2 separate regions of the Homo sapiens genome follow, and region 1 is linked to region 2. Evidence: promoter capture Hi-C in human tissues and cell types (Jung and others, 2019). All regions are on one chromosome and are shown on one strand. The core of a region is centred on a gene start or on the middle of the fragment in contact, and the rest is flanking DNA. Distances in the headings are between cores, read along the strand shown.

Evidence for each region. Contacts are between HindIII fragments. The study calls those that stand out against the background at their distance.
Region 1: a contact is called between a fragment that was not itself captured here and the fragment with the promoter of SHC2 in region 2, in 3 of the 25 tissues and cell types used here (dorsolateral prefrontal cortex, mesendoderm cells and thymus).

What each region holds. Positions count from the first base shown.
Region 1 is chr19:513,189-517,254 of GRCh38, reverse strand. All of the region lies in intron 1 of TPGS1 (tubulin polyglutamylase complex subunit 1), which reads right to left. Among named protein-coding and RNA genes, the nearest start is that of MADCAM1-AS1, 7.3 kb to the right of the region's middle. The HindIII fragment of the contact is 7,591 bases long and covers 1-4,066 here.
Region 2 is chr19:457,815-462,417 of GRCh38, reverse strand. It overlaps SHC2 (SHC adaptor protein 2), which reads left to right and starts at 1,385. Exons shown (of 13, transcript NM_012435.3): 1 at 1,385-1,889. The coding sequence starts at 1,422. The HindIII fragment of the contact is 8,702 bases long and covers 308-4,603 here.

The sequences.
Region 1 (4,066 bases), core at 1,322-3,821, 54 kb before region 2:
CCCTGGTCTCCTCCAGGTCTCTCCTCAAATGTCGCCTCCCCTGACCCCTAACTCCTTTCCTCCTGTTTTCTTCCTAGTGGTCATCCTGTCTCACTCGCTGTCCCACATCCCTGTGAGCTTCATGTCTCCCACCAGTGTGAGCACCTGCCCTCCAGGGCCGGAAGTTCGTCTTGGTTATAGCCCTGGTGCCCAGAACACTGCCCTGCCCACAGTAGGTGCTCAGTAAATGTCTTGAATCAACGGCAGGCATCTGTCTGGGGCATCTGGCCCCAGTGAAGAAGGAATTAGTGAAATCAGCTCTAACCTAATAGTAGTAGTCATAGAAATTTTAAAATCCTCTTAAAGTTGCTGCAAAGTGTGACCCCCACCCTTACACTCAAGTTAAAAGAGAATGTTAACAGCCTGTCTTCTCTCTGTAGTCAGTGGACCTTATCTATACTCTCCAACTCCACATTCCTCAGTTTATTACAGGCCCAGCGAGTTCCTGCTTACCTCCCTAGCACGGCTGCAGGGTCACAAAACCGATAAGTTTAGGTTGTAAGACATGTTTTTCTCAAGATGTGAGAAATGTTGGCCAGGCACGGTGGCTCACGCCTGTAATCCCAGCACTTTGGGAGGCCGAGGTGGGAGGATCACAAGGTCAAGAGATTGAGGCCATCCTGGCCAACATGGTGAAACCCCATCTCTACTAAAAATACAAAAATTAGCGGGACGTGGTGGTACACGTCTGTAGTCCCAGCTACTCGGGAGTCTGAGGCAGGAGAATCGCTTGAACCTGGGAGGTGGAGGTTGCGGTGAGCCAAGATGGCGCCACTGCACTCCAGCCTGGGCGACAGAGCGAGACTCCGTCTCAAAAAAAAAAAAAAGAAAAAGAAAAAAGAAATGCTGTAATGCTTAACTGCCTTTGTTTCTCGCCTCTGTAACTTGCTTCCCGCCTCACGTAGTTCCCGCCTTACGATGTTTAAAAATAGGAAAAGCCCTTTGTTCGAGGCTCAGACTTTCTGGATGTATGTCCAGCTGAGCCGGTGATCACCTTGATAAACTCTCCTGAACCTTTTTCGGTCTCTCCACTCTTTGTCCCACAACACCAGGACCCTCTGGTCTCCCTCCCTGCAGCAGCAGCGCCTGTTTACATGTGGCCAAATACTGTGCCCAACATTTAACACAACTGACATTTGTTTTTTTCTTTTCTTTCTTTCTTTCTTCCTTTTTTTTTTTTTTTTGAGACGGAGTCTCGCTCTGTCGCCCGGGCTGGAGTGCAGTGGCGGGATCTCGGCTCACTGCAAGCTCCGCCTCCCGGGTTCACGCCATTCTCCTGCCTCAGCCTCCCAAGTAGCTGGGACTACAGGCGTCCGCCACTATGCCCGGCTAATTTTTTGTATTTTTAGTAGAGACGGGGTTTCACCGTTTTAGCCGGGATGGTCTCGATCTCCTGACCTCGTGATCCACCCGCCTCGGCCTCCCAAAGTGCTGGGATTACAGGCGTGAGCCACCGCGCCCGGCCCTCTTTCTTTTTTTGAGACAGTGTCTCACTCTGTTGTCAGGCTGGAGTGCAGTGGCACAATCTCAGCTCACAGCAACCTCCACCTCCCGGGTTCAAGCGATTCTCCTGCCTCAGCCTCCTGAGCTGCTGGGATTACAGGCGTGTGTTACCACACCCAGCTAATTTTTGTATTTTTAGTAGAGACGGGGTTTCACCATGTCGGCCAGGATGGTCTGGATCTCGAGTGACCTCGTGGTCCGCCCACCTCGGCCTCCCAAAGTGCTGGGATTACAGGTGTGAGCCACTGCGCCCAGTCTGTGCTGAACATTTAACACAGCTGACATTGCATTTTTTCTTTTTTTTTTTTTTTTGAGACAGGGTCTCACTGTGTTGTGCAGGCTGGAGAGCAGTGGTACAATCAGGGCTCACAGCAGCCTCCACCTCCTGGGCTCAAGCGATCCTCCTGCCTCAGCCTCCCAAACTGCTGGGATTACAGGTGACAGTTGCTGCTCGGGGCCAGTGGTGGTATTTCTCTCCCCACAATCCCACAGGCAAGGCCCCACAGTCAGCCTGAGGGTCAAATACGACCTGCTGCCTGCTTTTGTAAATAAAGCTTTATCGGAACATAACCACATCAGTCCGCTGACATGTGGCCTGTGGCAGCTTCCGACCAGAACCGTAGAGCTGAATGTCAGGATGGAGGCTGCCACGCAAAGCTGAAATGTTCACTATCTGGCCCCTTACAGAAGAAGGCTGTCAGCCCTGCTGCCGGCTCTGGGGTGGGTTCGATTCCCTGCCCCAGTGAGGAGCCTGAGGCCTTACTACGTGCCACTCGTGTGCTGGTAGTGTGACACACACTCCCGTGGAGGGCACCAGGGAGTGGCCAGGGAGCACCGTGGCCAGCGTGGGGGCCGCTGCAGGACCCTGGGTGGGCTGCTTAACCCCCTGGCCTCACTCCCCCCATCAGTTCCCGGCCAGGCCTCATGCTAGTGGCCTGTTACTTCCTCTGGGACATATAGGGAAACTGAGGCTCAGGGCAGCCCCATGGTCTGGCCAAGGGTCCCAGAGAGGAAGTGGCCAACCTCAGGGCTTACGCTTTTCCCTTCTGGGAGCTCAGCTTCATGGTGAGGAGGGCAGCCTTCCCTCCGGCATGACCTGGGCACACGACTTCACCTTTCTGTGGGCCACCTGTGGTAGGTGCCGGGGAAGTGCTAAGCCAGCATGCAGTAGGTGCTCAGTAAATGCAGGGTTGGTGTGCAGCAGGTGCTCAGTAATGCAGGGCTGGTACACAGTAGGTGCTCAGTGATGCTGGGCCAGAATGCAATAGGTGCTCAGTAAATGTGGGGCTGGTGTGCAATAGGTACTCAGTAATGCTGGGGCGGTGTGCAGTGGGTGCTCAGTAAATGCTGGGCCAGTAAGCAATAGGTGCTTAGTAAACGTGGGGTCGGTGTGCAGTGGGTGCTCAGTAATACAGGGCCGGTGTAGAGTAGGTGCTCAGTGAATGCAGGGCCAGTACACGGTAGGTACTCAGTAATGCTGGGGCGGTGTGCAGTGGGAGTGAAGTAAATGCTGGGCCAGCATGCAATAGGTGCTCAGTAAATGTAGGGTCAGTGTGCAGTGGGTGCTCAGTAATACAGGGCTGGTGTACAGTAGGTGCTTAGTGAATGCAGGGCTGGTACATAGTAGGTGCTCAGCAAATGTGGGGCCAGTGTGCAGTGGGTGCTCAGTAATGCTGGGTCTGTGTACAGTGGGTGCTCAGTAAATGCTGGGCCAGCATGCAATAGGTGCTCAGTAAATGTGGGGCCGGGGCAGGTTGGTGTGCAGCAGGTGCTCAGTAATGCAGGACTAGTGCACAGTAGGTGCTCAGTAATGCTGGGGTTGTGTGCAGTGGGTGCTCACTAAATGCTGGGCCAGGATGCAATAGGTGCTCAGTAAATGTGGGGCCAGTGTGCAGTAGGTGCTCAGTAAATGTGGGGCTGGTGTGCAGTAGGTACTCAGTAATGCTGGGCTGGTGTGCAGTAGGTACTCAGTAATGCTGGGCTGGTGTGCAGTAGGTACTCAGTAATGCTGGGCTGGTGTGCAGTAGGTACTCAGTAATGCAGGGCCAGTATGCAGTAGGTGCTCAGTAATGCTGGGCTGGTGTGCAGTAGGTGTTCAGTAATGCAGGGCCGGCATGCAGTAGGTGCTCAGTAAATGCTGGGCGGGTGCACAGTAGGTGCTCAGTAATGCTGGGCCGGTGCACGGTGGGTGCCTGGTGAACACGTGCCTCCCTGGTCATCACTGCTGCTCAGTTCAGGGCTTAGGGATGGACGTGCCATCTCAGCGAGCTCGAGGGTCAAAGCTCTGCTATGGAGGAGGAAACTGAGGCCCAGAGGCAGGAGGGCAGCGACCTGCAATTCAACTCTAGGCCCATCTGGCTGTACGCTCCTTTTCCCTCCCAAGTAGTAAAGGCCCCATTTGTTGGCCCTTATAATCCGCTGGGCGCTTTTACCATCCATGAGGTCATCCCCAAAATGCGCTGGGGGCAGTCGCAGTGTCAGCGCGGCGGCCCGAGCTCCCATCACGCCTGACCTCTCCGCATGA
Region 2 (4,603 bases), core at 136-2,635:
AGCCTGGGAGGCATGCAGGGCGCAGAGAGGGGGTGGTGGGGCTGCTCTCTCCTCAGCCCACAGCCCTCAGCCTAGGGCCGCCAAACCTGTCCCACCCTTTACCCATTAGGTGAACACACCCCAGGACCCAGCAGCCTGGATCCCCTGCATATGCCTGGACACGCACCCAGACACAGCGTACACCCTGCGCACAACACACACACCGCGCGCAGGTCCAGCCGCGGCTCCAGCCCGACCAATCGCGCCCACGATCTGCTCCTCCCGCGGACGCGCAGGGGCTGAGTCCGACACGCGCCGCGGCAGAGACGGCCGATCGCGACCGCGCGCCTCGCTCCCCTCCCCCACCTCCCCGGCCCCGCGGGCGGCGCCGGCTGTGATCTCATCCCCTGAATTATCGATCGGGCTCCGGGCAGCCTCGCCCCTCCCTCCCTCCCCACCTGCCAGCGCGTCCCGGCCCCTCCCTTTGTTCCCGGCAATCAGCCCTGCTTGGGGCGGGGCAGGTGCAGGGGAGCTCCAGCCAAGTCGGGCCAGGAGGCTGGGTCCCGGGGTGACAGTGACACCCCGTTTTCTGGTGCAGAAGGAACCGACCCTTGAGGCCAGGGAAGGTGCGGCCGGTCTCGGAGAGGTTGAGGCTGGGGATGGAGCGACCGGCCTGGGAGGCTGAGGCCCAGAGCTCAGATGAGCTGGTGCGGGACTGGGCTCCCCAGAAGTGAGGGAAGAAGGGCCGCGACCCTCCAGCCCGCTCCCCTGAGTTACAGCCGGAGAAACTGAGGCCGGGACAGGCCGCAGAGCAGGGGCCCGGCTCCGCTCCTAGCCCCGCCCCCCCCCCCCACCCCCGAGCCGGCACTCCTGGGTTTGAGCTTCGTCTGTGAGCCCTCGGCCGCGCCCCTTCCCCTCCCCGCGCCTCAGTTTCCCCACTAAGAAATAGGGGTGACCCTAAGGTACCTTCTAGCTGCAACAACGGAGAGGGAGGGGCTGACCTTAGGGTCTGGGGTTCTCTTTTCCCTGGCCGCGCCTCCCGGGGCCTCAGTTTCCCCACTAGGAAATAGGGGAAAGAAGGGATGTGGAATTTCTAAGCTTCTCCAGCTCGGTCCTTCTGCGAACTTGGGCGGCGGGCGGGGGTGGGGGGCGCAGCGGGGAGGGTCGCTGACGGGGTTCTGGGTTCAAAGCCCCGTCCCGCCTTGGCTGCGGGTTCCAGGCCAGCGCCCGGTGTCCTCGGAGGGCCTCAGTTTCCCCAGCCTCGCGGCCAGGCTCCGGGACGAGGAGGGCCGGGGTCCCAGGGGCGCAGCCCCCCGCGGCTGCGCGCTGGGCCGGGCGGATGACATCACCGGGCCGGGGGGCGGGAGGGAGCGGGCGGAGCGGGAGGGCTTCCTCCGCGCCAGGCGCAGCGCCCGGTCGGGCTCCGTCGGGCGGCCGCGGCCATGACGCAGGGTCCGGGCGGGCGCGCGCCCCCGGCGCCCCCCGCGCCCCCCGAGCCCGAGGCGCCCACCACCTTCTGCGCGTTGCTGCCCCGAATGCCGCAGTGGAAGTTCGCGGCCCCGGGCGGCTTCCTGGGCCGCGGCCCGGCGGCGGCGCGGGCGGCTGGGGCCTCGGGGGGCGCGGACCCCCAACCCGAGCCGGCGGGCCCGGGGGGCGTCCCGGCGCTGGCGGCCGCCGTCCTGGGCGCCTGCGAGCCCCGCTGCGCCGCGCCCTGTCCCCTGCCCGCGCTCAGCCGCTGTCGGGGCGCGGGGTCGCGGGGGTCGCGGGGCGGGCGGGGGGCGGCGGGGTCCGGGGACGCCGCCGCCGCCGCCGAGTGGATCCGGAAGGGCAGCTTCATCCACAAACCCGCGCACGGCTGGCTACACCCCGACGCCAGGGTCCTGGGGCCCGGGGTCTCCTACGTCGTGCGGGTGAGTCCCCCCCACCCCCCCCGGGAGCCCGTTCGCGGCGGCCTCCCCTCCCCCACCCTCTCCTCCGGGACCCCCGGACCCCGCGAGCCAGGTGTCCCCTCCCCATCCTTCCTGCTCTCCCGCCACCCCGGACCCCCATCCCCGGCCGGCGGCCGGCGGCTGCCCCCACCCGGAGGCGCTGGGGTCCGGGTTCCCACGGCGTCACGTGGGGAGGGGCGGGGAGAGGGCGGCGGGGGAGGGGCGCGCATGCGCAGGTGCACCGCCCCCCACTCGGACTGGGCGGGCGAGGCCGAGAGCGGCGAGCGGCCGGGGCGTCTCTGCCACCGGAGCCCCCCGGACAGCTGTTCACGAATGACAGACGGGGCCCGAGACGCTGGCCTGCGGTGGGGGTGCGGGAAGGGGTGTTTGGAAAGGGGCTGGCGCCCGGACAGACCCCAGGATTCCAGATGGGAGGCAGCAGGGACTTCCAGGGCGGCCAAGGAAGCGGCCTTTGTTTATTTACCTTGGGTCTTATGATAAATGAACCTTTTCAAACACACGGGGAAGTCGGGCGCCTGGACACAGCACGCCTCCACCTAGGAGGGTAACCTTCCCCTCTGCTGACGGGTCTGCCCCTCTCTGTGGTTTATAGTAAACCGTGTGAAGTCACCTGCAGGGGTGACAGCGCCGTGCATAGTCCCCCGTCTTCTGAGAGAGCAGCTGTCCTACAGCTGCAGTCATTACGGCGTCTGGGAAAATGATCAGCCACTCCCGCACGCCACTACCGGTGGGTGCTCCCAGCTCCTCCCGGCCTCTGCGGCCAGGAACATTAGCCTGTGTTCACATTGGGTTGTGTCTTTGCTTTTCTGGACACTGAGTTCAGTAGGGTCCTTCCCTCTACACTGAGTTGAGAAGGGTCCTTCCCCTTACACTGAGTTCAGTGGGGTCCTTCCCCCTACGCTGAGTTCAGTGGGGTCCTTCCCCCTACGCTGAGTTCAGTAGGGTCCTTCCCTCTACACTGAGTTGAGAAGGGTCCTTCCCCCTACGCTGGGTTCAGTGGGGTCCTTCCCCCTACGCTGAGTTGAGAGGGGTCCTTCCCCCTACGCTGGGTTCAGTGGGGTCCTTCCCCCTACGCTGGGTTCAGTGGGGTCCTTCCCCCTACGCTGGCTTCAGTGGGGTCCTTCCCCCTACGCTGGCTTCAGTGGGGTCCTTCCCCCTACGCTGGGTTCAGTGGGGTCCTTCCCCCTACGCTGGCTTCAGTGGGGTCCTTCCCCCTACACCGAGTTGAGAGGGGTCCTTCCCCCTACGCTGGGTTCAGTGGGGTCCTTCCCCCTACGCTGGGTTCAGTGGGGTCCTTCCCCCTACACCGAGTTGAGAAGGGTCCCCCTACAATTCCTGTGCCGTAGGAGTCTGACCTTATTACCTTATATTGGGAACAGGGTCCTTGCAGATGTAACCTAGTCAAGATGAGGCCTACCTGGATCAGGGGTCTCTGTAAGGAGAAGGAACTTTAGACTCAGATGCACAGAGGAGCGGGCCGTTAGGAGACAGGCAGAGGTGGGGGCCTCAAGCCCGGGCCCACCAAAGCCTGTGGGAGCCCCCAGAAGCTGGCTGTGAAACCTCACTCCCCCACGTGTGGTCCCCAGGCGCGCTCGGCCTGCGCAGTACAACCGGCTTCTGCCTCCCCAGGACCCGCTTCCGCCTCCCCGGAACCCTCTTCCGCCTCCCCAAGACCCGCTTCCGCCTCCCCAGGACCCGCTTCCGCCTCCCCGGAACCCGCCTCCGCCTCCCCGGGACCCGCTTCCGCCTCCCCGGAACCCACTTCCGCCTCCCCAAGACCCGCTTCCGCCTCCCCGGAACCCGCTTCCCCCTCCCCCGGAACCCACTTCCGCCTCCCCAAGACCGGCTTCCGCCTCCCCGGAACCCGCGTCCGCCTCCCTGGAACCCACTTCCCCGTCCCCCGGAACCCGCTTCCGCCTCCCCAGGACCCGCTTCCACCTCCCCGGAACCCGAATCCGCCTCCCCAGGACCCGCTTCCGCCTCCCCGGAACCTGCTTCCCCGTCCCCCGGAACATGCGTCTGCCTCCCCGGAACCCACTTCCGCCTCCCCAAGACCCGCTTCTGCCTCCCCAGGACCCGCTTCCGCCTCCCCGGAACCCGATTCCGCCTCCCCGGGACCCGCTTCCGCCTCCCCGGAACCCGCTTCTGTCTCCCCGGAACCCGCTTCCGCCTCCCCAAGACCCGCTTCCGCCTCCCCGGGACCCACTTCCGCCTCCCCAAGACCCGCTTCCGCCTCCCCGGAACCCACTTCCCCCTCCGCCGGAACCCGCGTCTGCCTCCCCGGAACCCACTTCCCCGTCCCCCGGAACATGCGTCTGCCTCCCCGGAACCCGCTTCCGTCTCCCCGGAACCCACTTCCGCCTCCCCAAGACCCGCTTCTGCCTCCCCGGGACCCACTTCCGCCTCCCCAAGACCCGCTTCCGCCTCCCCAAGACCCGCTTCCGCCTCCCCGGAACCTACTTCCGCCTCCCCAAGACCCTCTTCTGCCTCCCCGGGACCGGCTTCCGCCTCCCCAGGACCCGCTTCCGCCTCCCCGGGACCCACTTCCGCCTCCCCCGGGTCTGTGCGGATGCCAGGCCTGGTTGGGTCTGTTTTCCCTGGTGGCATCGGGCCGCCCTCGCCGTCTCCCGGCGGTTTGTCCTACAAGTTTAACGCCGACGGCCGGCGTGTTCCAC